2 separate regions of the Homo sapiens genome follow, and region 1 is linked to region 2. Evidence: promoter capture Hi-C in human tissues and cell types (Jung and others, 2019). All regions are on one chromosome and are shown on one strand. Each heading gives the region's core, a stretch centred on a gene start or on the middle of the fragment in contact. The rest is flanking DNA. Distances are from core to core; before and after follow the strand shown.

Region 1 (4,219 bases), core at 101-2,600, 100 kb after region 2:
CCGGGGGGAGGCGGAGGTCCAGAATGTCATTGGGTGCTGACCTGCAGACATATGGGGTGGAGTGGGTACGTGTTTTGGGGGGACCAGGAGAGCCCCATCTAACAACACACACTCTGTCCCAACGGCCATAATCACTCCCTCTTCCAACCTCTGCTTCTGAAGGTTGGGCCCATCAGTACACTCCTACACATTCCTCTCTCCTTGACCTCCTCACAATCATCCTGCCCAGTGCAACTCACTCAGCTAGCTGCACACCCACACAGGTAAGCGTGCAAATGCACACACATCCACCATGCTTGTGGCCACAGTATTTCCTATGCACATCCCCAGGAATAGATGCCCATACACACAGGGTTCCCCACAAGCCCACTCCCACAGATATGTTTCAGTCACATTCACATAGACACACTTCTGCACACATTGTGGTGGACACACAAACCCAACCCCAGCACACTTACGCACATGCACACTTCATCAGACATAGTTACAGACACACACACAAAGACACTCCCATTTACACATGTGTTCATCTTAACATACATTGACCCATGAGCTCTCACATGCACACATGGGCACACATACAAACTACTGTTTACCAACACAGTTTGCTGGGATCCTGGGCTCGATTGAAAACACACACACACACACACACACACACACAGCTCTTGCAGCTGCAGTCTCTCACTGACCCCACCTGGGCTACCCCCTTCCAGCCTCCCAACCCCTGCCCCTACCTGGGGCTGAGCTGCAGGAAGGAGTGAGGCAGCTTGTGCTTACTCCTGAGGTGGGGGTGCATTCCCCCAACAGGGCAGGAACTCCAGACTGGCACTTGCTCCCCCCCCACACACACCTCCCCTCCTAGTTGCCATCATGCTCCTGGGCACTGCCTTGTCTCCCTGGACTGCCCATATCCTGTCACCAGTCCAACCCCCTCCTATGAGGGAGCTCACTGCCTTTGGTTGGGCACCAGCACTTTCCTATGACCCTGTCCCTCCCTTCTTCCAGGGTCCTCTACCCCAGCAAGAGCATCAGAGGCCCCTGCAGGCCGGGGTCCCAACTCTCTAGGAGGGCGGAGCATGAGGTGAGGGCTCACCTGGGCATGGCAGCAGCCAGCAGCAGTAGGAAGAACAGGAGCACCCAGAGCGCTGGCCGCGGCTGGGGCTGGGGTCGGAGCCGCAGCCAGGGGCGAGGGTGGGCGCTGCCCATGGCGCGCAGGCCCTGACGGGCTGGGAGTGGGGGGCTCACAGCCCAGTGGGACTGGAGAGCCAGGGGCGCCGGCGCATGATCGGCGGGGGGTCGGGGCGGCTGCGACACACAGCTCCGACTCGGGTCAGGGCTCCCGGAGCAGACGGCGCCCGCCTCCCCGCTCCATGGGGCAGCACCCCCGGGCACCGCCCTCGGGGGGGGCGGGGGGTGAAGAGCGGGCGAACCGGGCACCTCCTGGCACAGGGGTCCGGGGAATTTCCCGAGGCCCCCCCGCGACAACTCCCGGTGCCTCTCAAGGGTAAGGGGGGCCCGGAGGTGCAGCGGGCTGGGGACGGGAGGCTGGGGTGCCGGGGAACCCTCCAGCGCAGCGCCGGGAGCCTGCGCTTCCGAGGGCGTGCGAGGCTGGCTGGCGGGGGCGGCGCTGTCTGTGTCGGGCCCCACTGCCTGTAGAGTAAGTGACTGTCCCGGCTCGGGGAGCTCTGCCGCCTTCCCTTTCCTCCCCCCACCCCCCCGCCATTTAGTGTCTCAGGGCTCTACCCCACGTGACGTCACGCGGCGGGGCGTGGAGGCGTGTACGAGTCCCGAGGCCACTGCGTCCGCTGGGGACTGGGGGTGGGAGCGTCCCTGCTGAGGGCAACAGAGGGAAAGGTGTTGGGGTCTGTGCGCGCGTGCACAGGAAGATGCCTGTGTGTGGAGCGCGCTGGGTTGTGTGGGGGATATGTGTTACCGCGAGGTGTGTGTGCCTGGCAGAGACGCAGCTGCTGGGGAGCGCCCCCATCCCACCCCAACACACACACCTGCAGGGGCTGGAGGGGAGGGGCTGGCCTCTGTGTTTCGCCTCCTCCGCCAGAGGAGGGACTTCCCCCAGGCCTGCCTGGTGTGAGGCAGGTGTGGGCTCCTGCAGAGGAGTTTGGCAGCCTCTGGTTTCTTCTCCCCTTTGCTGTGTGACCTTAAACAGGTGCCTCCTGCTCCTGCTCACGGAGACCTCCTCTGCCCCTTTGCGGAATGCGGCTCATGGGGACCACCTTGTCTCCTCAGTGAGCCCGGGGAGGCAGCAGTGTCAGGCCCCCAGAAAATGCTTGCGTAGGAGCGCCCGGGGTGGCACGTCCTGGGAGGAGGCGTTAGAGAGACTTTTAACCCTAGAAGTGGCCGTTGAGATAGTTTATTTAGCTCCCCTTTATTTCACAAGAAAATATCGAGGCTCAAAGAGGTCACACAGCAAATTAGCGGAAGAGCGAGAACCGAACGCAGCTCTCCTGACTCCCAGCGCAGCAGCTGCCTCCCCAACACTGAGTGTTGCCTGCCTGTGCCCGCAGATACTCTCAGTCTTGTCCTGGCCCTCCCTGGCCCCACCTGCACATGGTCCTCTAGGAGGTCCCTAATACCAGCCTCCTGGCTCAGGTCTACTTCTCGCTGAGATCTTCCTGTCCCTCCACCCCAACTGAACACTGGGCCCCTCCTCGATATAGTGCAAGTGTGCTGGGCCCAAGCAAGGGCCTGAGAGCCAGAGGGCAGGGGAAAGGCAGCTCTGCCGTCTGTTTCTGGTGCTAGCCTGGGCCCTGATAGTGGATCGTGCTCCTGCCCTGTGCCCTCGGCATCCTCCTCTGTAAAATGGGCACAAGCCTTTACACAAACATGCCCCTCTCTCTGAAGAGAGCCCCTGCTGGCTTAGGAACAAAACTATGGGAGCCTCTGGGCTCAGAGACAAAAAAGGCCCATTCCTGGAATTGCCCATCCCTGGGGAACTGAAGGAGGGGGTGGGGCCCTCCTTGTCCCCAGACTGTCAGGTGGTGGGGGCGGCCTGAGCAACAGCAGGCTGACGGCATACTCCCCCCTCCTTTCCCCCTCATCTCTGCCGGCAGCCACCGCAGCTGTCAGGAATTAAGGGCTTGAGGCTGCTGGGGGTGGGGGTGGGGCAGTGGGGGGGGAGCAGTCTGGCTGGACTGCAGGAAAACAGCCAGGGGCAGCAAGCAGACTGCGTCAGCTAGAGCCTTATTTGACCCCAACTGCCCCCTGCCCTCCCCACTCTCCCTACCATGCTGCAGAAACGGGGACAGCTTGGGACTAGCATTTGGGAAGGGTAAGCGGTAAGGGTAAGGGTGGGACCAGACTCAAGACAGGAGACAGGCACCAGCCCAGGATGAGAGAGGACACCAGCAAGCTGGAGAGTCATATTCTTATTGGCTGTTGGGGAAACTGAGGCCCAGAAAGAATTAGGAACGTGACACAGGGAAGGGACTCATAATCAGCTTACAGATGTCCTTATTCCCCATCACGCGCTCACACTAGCATTTCCCACGCTTGATGCAGCACAAGTGTCCCCTGGGGTGGGCCATTGTGGGAATGCGGATTCCAGGCCCCATGAAGTTGAATCAGCCTTTCCAGGGAAAGGCCTGGGTGTCTGTCTTTCTAGCTAGCATCCCCAGTGATTCTGGTGGGGACTCCTTTTGGGAAACGCTGCTGACCTGGTTGAGGAGCTGATTTAGTTTCCTTTGGCATCTCTCTGATGAGGGGGTCTCTTTTCTTCCCCACCTCCACTGTCTGTGAAATACAGAGGTGCAAAGGAGACCGAGAAAACCCTTTCTTAAAAAAAAACAAAAAAGCCTCCGGAGGCAAATAGTGATACTGAGGCTTGCACTCAGGCGTGGCTCTGCCCTGGTGTCAGGAGGGTCTAGGAGTGCCCAAGTCAGAGCACTTCTCAGTGAAGGGAGGGGAGAGTCTGTGTTGGTCCAGAGCCTTGGCATGTATGTAGGTGAGGCCCAGAGACTGTCTGCCCCTGGGGTCCCAGCCCCAAATGACCCACACCATGGCCAAGCCCCTATCAGCACCCCCTAGTCCCCACCCTGGCCCTGCCCTGGGCCCTGGCCCTCAGCCCAGCCCCAGCCCCCGCAGCCGCCGCCTAAGACCACAATTACAGGGGCCACTGGGGGGCGGGGGAGCACTGGGGATGAAAGGCAGCTTGGAGAATGGTTCCAGCTGTGGCAGCTCTGGAGAAGGTCACAGGGAGGAAGGG
Region 2 (4,127 bases), core at 208-2,707:
AGCAGGAGACCTGCCCATTCCCAGGCCTCCTCCACCCCTGGGCTCAAGCAGTGAGAGAGGACTTTGAGAATGCCAGTTTTGACAGTACCCGTTCCATACTGCAAGGCTGCAGAAGGTGGGCTTCTGGGCTGGAGCCTCATCTTCAGCCAGCATCCTCCTTAGCCTGCCTCTCCAGAGCCACGAAGCCCCATAGGTACCCAGAGAGACTCCAGGCCACTTGGGAACCACATCAACATCTTTGCATGAGTTAGAAATAGGAATCCTTTTCTTGGAGTGGATTCCAGCCTTGTACAGTGCACAACCCTGTCTTAACCCCTCCACCTCTCCAGCCTCGTTCAGGGATAGCCAGAATGGGAGTAGTGGTGAGGGTGGGTGGCAGACTGGGAGGACAGGGGATGGGGAAGGATGGGAGCAGAATAGTTGTACAGGGAAGTAGCAGGGGGCTCAGGAACCCATCAGGGAAAGCCAGGACAGATTCTCAACATCTTTAGAGGCCTTCAGCAGTCCAAGCCACTACTAATTTATGGGGACTGAATGAATGAGAAAAGGAGGGGAGGGAGAAGGATGAGAGGGAGAGAGAAGGCTGGAGGGGAGATGAGAGTCGGAGAGAAAAGCCTAGGAGGTAAAGAGAGACCTAGAAGGGGGCGGGGAGGACAGAAGAGGGGGCCACCCATCATAAGTTGCCAGGAGAGATGGCCCAGCACCAGGCCTGAGGCTTGGGGGCCCCAGAAAGGCAGGAAACGGGCCAAAGCAAGAAGGAGACGGGGAAGGGGTTCGGGTCTCTAGGGAAGAGCAGAGAGTGGGAGAAGAGGAGGAGGGAGCGGGGATGCGGGCAGAGATAAAGGGAGCAACGGCTGCAGGGCCGGGCGCGCAGCGACAGGCGAGAGGGAGGGAAGCGGAAATTTAAAAGTGAAGATGCAGATAACGCAGCCTGGAGACGGGAACCCGGGTGGGGATAGAGGGAGGGAGGGGGAGGAGAGTGAGCGGCGAGTGGAGCGGGAGCCGACTGGAAGAAGGGCTCTAGGGAGGGGGCTGTGGCTGCTGGGGTCCGAGGTGGGGCCGGGTACACCAGCCCCATCACTGTTTGCAGAGAGTCAGGGAGGCGGAAAAGACACGCGCTCTAGGCTCCCATCAGGGCACATGGCCCGGGCCCATCCCCCGCGCGTCTCCCCGGCTGCGGGGCGCGGGGGGCTGCCGGGTGCGCTTGGCTGTGGCGCGGCGCGTTGGAGACTTTATTGCGATGGGACGATAAGAGGGGCGGGGGCGGGGTCCTGGGGGCCGAGGCGGCAGCGCTTTAATTAAAACGGAAATTGCGGCCCCGGGCCGCGCGGGGGCCGGAGGGTTCCAAGCGGCCCCTTAGCTGGAAGCGTTTCTCCAGGACCCCCCCGCAACCCCCGCCACGCCCGGGCTGCCCCCTCCCGCCAGGCCCTGCCGGACCCGGCGCCGTCTTCTCCTCCTTGTCACCCGCGGTCGCTTCGGGCGGGGATCGGTGCCACCGAGCGCAAAGCCTGCCTCGCCCCCCTTCCCCGTCCCCCCCATCTCCCACCGCCCAGTCCCCGGCGGCGATGAGACAGAGCGGCGCCTCCCAGCCCCTGCTGATCAACATGTACCTGCCAGGTACCAGGGACCAGCCGGAGGCTGGTGGCACCGGAACCTGGGGCGGGAAGTCTAGGCTCAGGCATGGGAAGAGAGTGCTGGGGTCCAGGGGAAGGAGAAGTGTCCGGAGATTCGGGTTGCATGGAGGGCCGATTGTAATGTAGGGCACTGGGGAGACCTAAAGGCAGATAGAGAGCTCTGGGTTTCAGTGCAGGGTCTAGAGGAGTTGAAATGAGCAGATTGGGAGCCTGGGGGCCAAGAGCCGGGACTCAGGGACCCGAAGGAGCCTGAGAGGGGAAGCACGGGTCTCTGGCGTGGTGGAGTACTCTGTGGCCGAGCCGTACCAGAAGGCTGTGGTCCGCGGGCGTCTCCCCTGCGCTCTCACGGCTCCTCACCTTCCTGCTACGAGCTTCAGGCCGGCCCTCCAGGCACCCTCCTCTTCTCTTCGCGCTCCAGCTCGGCTGGCGCAGTTCCCCGCTCGGCTTTATAAGGCTCCAGCCGGCCCCTTCGGAAAGCGGATTTCCTTTTTCCTGGACGCGTTTCCTGACTTGGGCTCTATGGAGGGGCTCCGCGCAGCGCGCCTGGACCAGGCTCCGGGAGGAGGAGCCGGGTGGCCCGGGCCCCCAGCCTCGCGCCTGGGGACCACAGCACCCCCCTTAAGCCTTGGCCCGGGGCCCTTTTGTCAAGCCCACAACTTCCGCCCGGGGTTCTCCTGATTCTTTTCTTCTGCTGCTTGCAGATCCCGTCGGAGACGGTCTCTTCAAGGACGGGAAGAACCCGAGCTGGGGGCCGCTGAGCCCCGCGGTTCAGAAAGGTGAGATGGCCGGCGCGCTGGGCGGCGGAGGCGAGGTTGGTTGGGGTCAGGGCACAGGCGGACAGTAGGTGGGAGCAGTGTGGACCCAGGGTTCACACTGAAGCCCGGAGTCCTGGCCTGGTTGTGCGGAGGCCTTGGGAAGACAGTCACTTGGTTTTTGGCTCCTGCATCTCCTGAGCACCAGGAAAAGAGTTGCAGGCCAAGGCAGATGGAGAGGATCCCAGCCCCAGGCCCTTTTGCTGCTGTGTATGGTTTTCCAGGCTTTGGGGCAGGGGCTGGGACACTTAGCGTCCTTTCCCTGCTGGTAGTAGGAGCTCAAGGCCGCAGCACCAGCCGGCAATGGAACCGGGGGAATTACTCCCCAAACACAGCGGGCTTCCCAATCACTAGACCCTGGCTACTGCCACCTGCTTCACCCTCCGGCGCTGACTCACGCCGGCTGATCTCTGCTGGCCAACTCTGCCAGACGATTGCAATTGATTCCCAGGTTCACCACCAGCGCTCCACGGGTAGTCGCTAAATTACCCTTTTGACGGCTGGCTCTTCAAGCAGCGTCTCCCCACAGTCCCCATCTCAGTCGTTACCCTAGATCTCACCAAGAGACAGAAACCACAAAAACGAGGTTGGCGACTGTTTTATCCAGAAGGAAACTATGCCCAACAGGAACGGTCATCCAAGCCGCTGAGGTTGCTCCGCCTTTGGTGCCAGGTGCACCTTTGTACCCAAACCTTCCCTTGCTTCTGACCCTAAAACTTAACTCTGGGGACCAGAAACCAGGAAGCTCTTTGCTGGGCTGGCTTGAAGGGATTGGGATTGAAATTATGGGGAAGGGTAGCGTCTGGATTCTAAGCCAGTGGCTGAAAAAGTAAGAGGGGTTCAAAAGACTATATTTGAGGCAGTAAGCAGACCACTTTGAGGAAAATCCGTTTTATTCTAAAAGGGAGTGGGGGTAATTGTATCGGGATTTTTCTCTGCCTGTCTGCTTGAGGCTCCAAGACAGGGGAGCAGGAATTCTGGGACCCCACTCTCTAACCACTCGCATATCCTGGAAAAACCTCCTTGCTGCCTCCAGCAACCGAATTCGGAGGGAGATCACACAAAGACAGGAGGAGGTTGGTAGCCAAGCACAACAGCTGCTCGGTCCGTTCCCCTCCTCAGAGTTGTTCATCAGGCCCCGAGAACTATGGCACCTTCGTAGGCAGGGAATCCCGCCTGTTCCGAAAATAAGAGGCCAAATTCTCAGGGCCAGCGCAGAGGCCTGCGCACCCGAAGGTGGCTAGGATAGTGAGCCCATGAGAGCTTGCCCCTCCTGTCACGTATAGGGGGCCACTGTTCGTTCCTACTCCTGTCGGATGTGGTGTCCCAAGGGAGCCAGCCACCACTCCACCTCAGGAGTAGCCTGTCCAACTACGTCTTTGGGGACTCGGGACTAGCTGGGCCTTGTCCAGCAGTGGTTGGGGTCGTCCTGCTGCACGCCTGTCCCTTCCCACCTCTGGATGTGGTCCAGCTGGGATGGGGCAGTCCGATCATTCTGCCCAAGGCCGCCCTGTACGGTTGTGCGTCTTTTCCCTAAATAAGGGCGCCCGGCTGAGATGGAGAGTGGCGGCGGATATCTGTCCTTGCTCGCCTTGGAAAGCCAAGTGCCTTGGTGCGCCGCTGCGCTCACGTGGGGGGAGGCAATGCTTCCCCTTCCCCCCAACCCCCAAGTTCCACAAAA

What was found. Contacts are between HindIII fragments. The study calls those that stand out against the background at their distance.
Region 1: a contact is called between the fragment with the promoter of WNT10A here and the fragment with the promoter of FEV in region 2, in 1 of the 25 tissues and cell types used here (H1 embryonic stem cells).

Annotation. Positions count from the first base shown.
Region 1 is chr2:218,877,983-218,882,201 of GRCh38, reverse strand. WNT10A (Wnt family member 10A) reads right to left here and starts at 1,350. Exons shown (of 4, transcript NM_025216.3): 1 at 1,094-1,350; 2 at 1-41. The coding sequence starts at 1,206. RefSeq lists silencers at 1,275-1,414, 1,435-1,644, 1,865-1,924. The HindIII fragment of the contact is 13,021 bases long and covers 1-4,219 here.
Region 2 is chr2:218,982,514-218,986,640 of GRCh38, reverse strand. It overlaps FEV (FEV transcription factor, ETS family member), which reads left to right and starts at 1,457. Exons shown (of 3, transcript NM_017521.3): 1 at 1,457-1,617; 2 at 2,336-2,410. The coding sequence starts at 1,566. The HindIII fragment of the contact is 32,237 bases long and covers 1-4,127 here.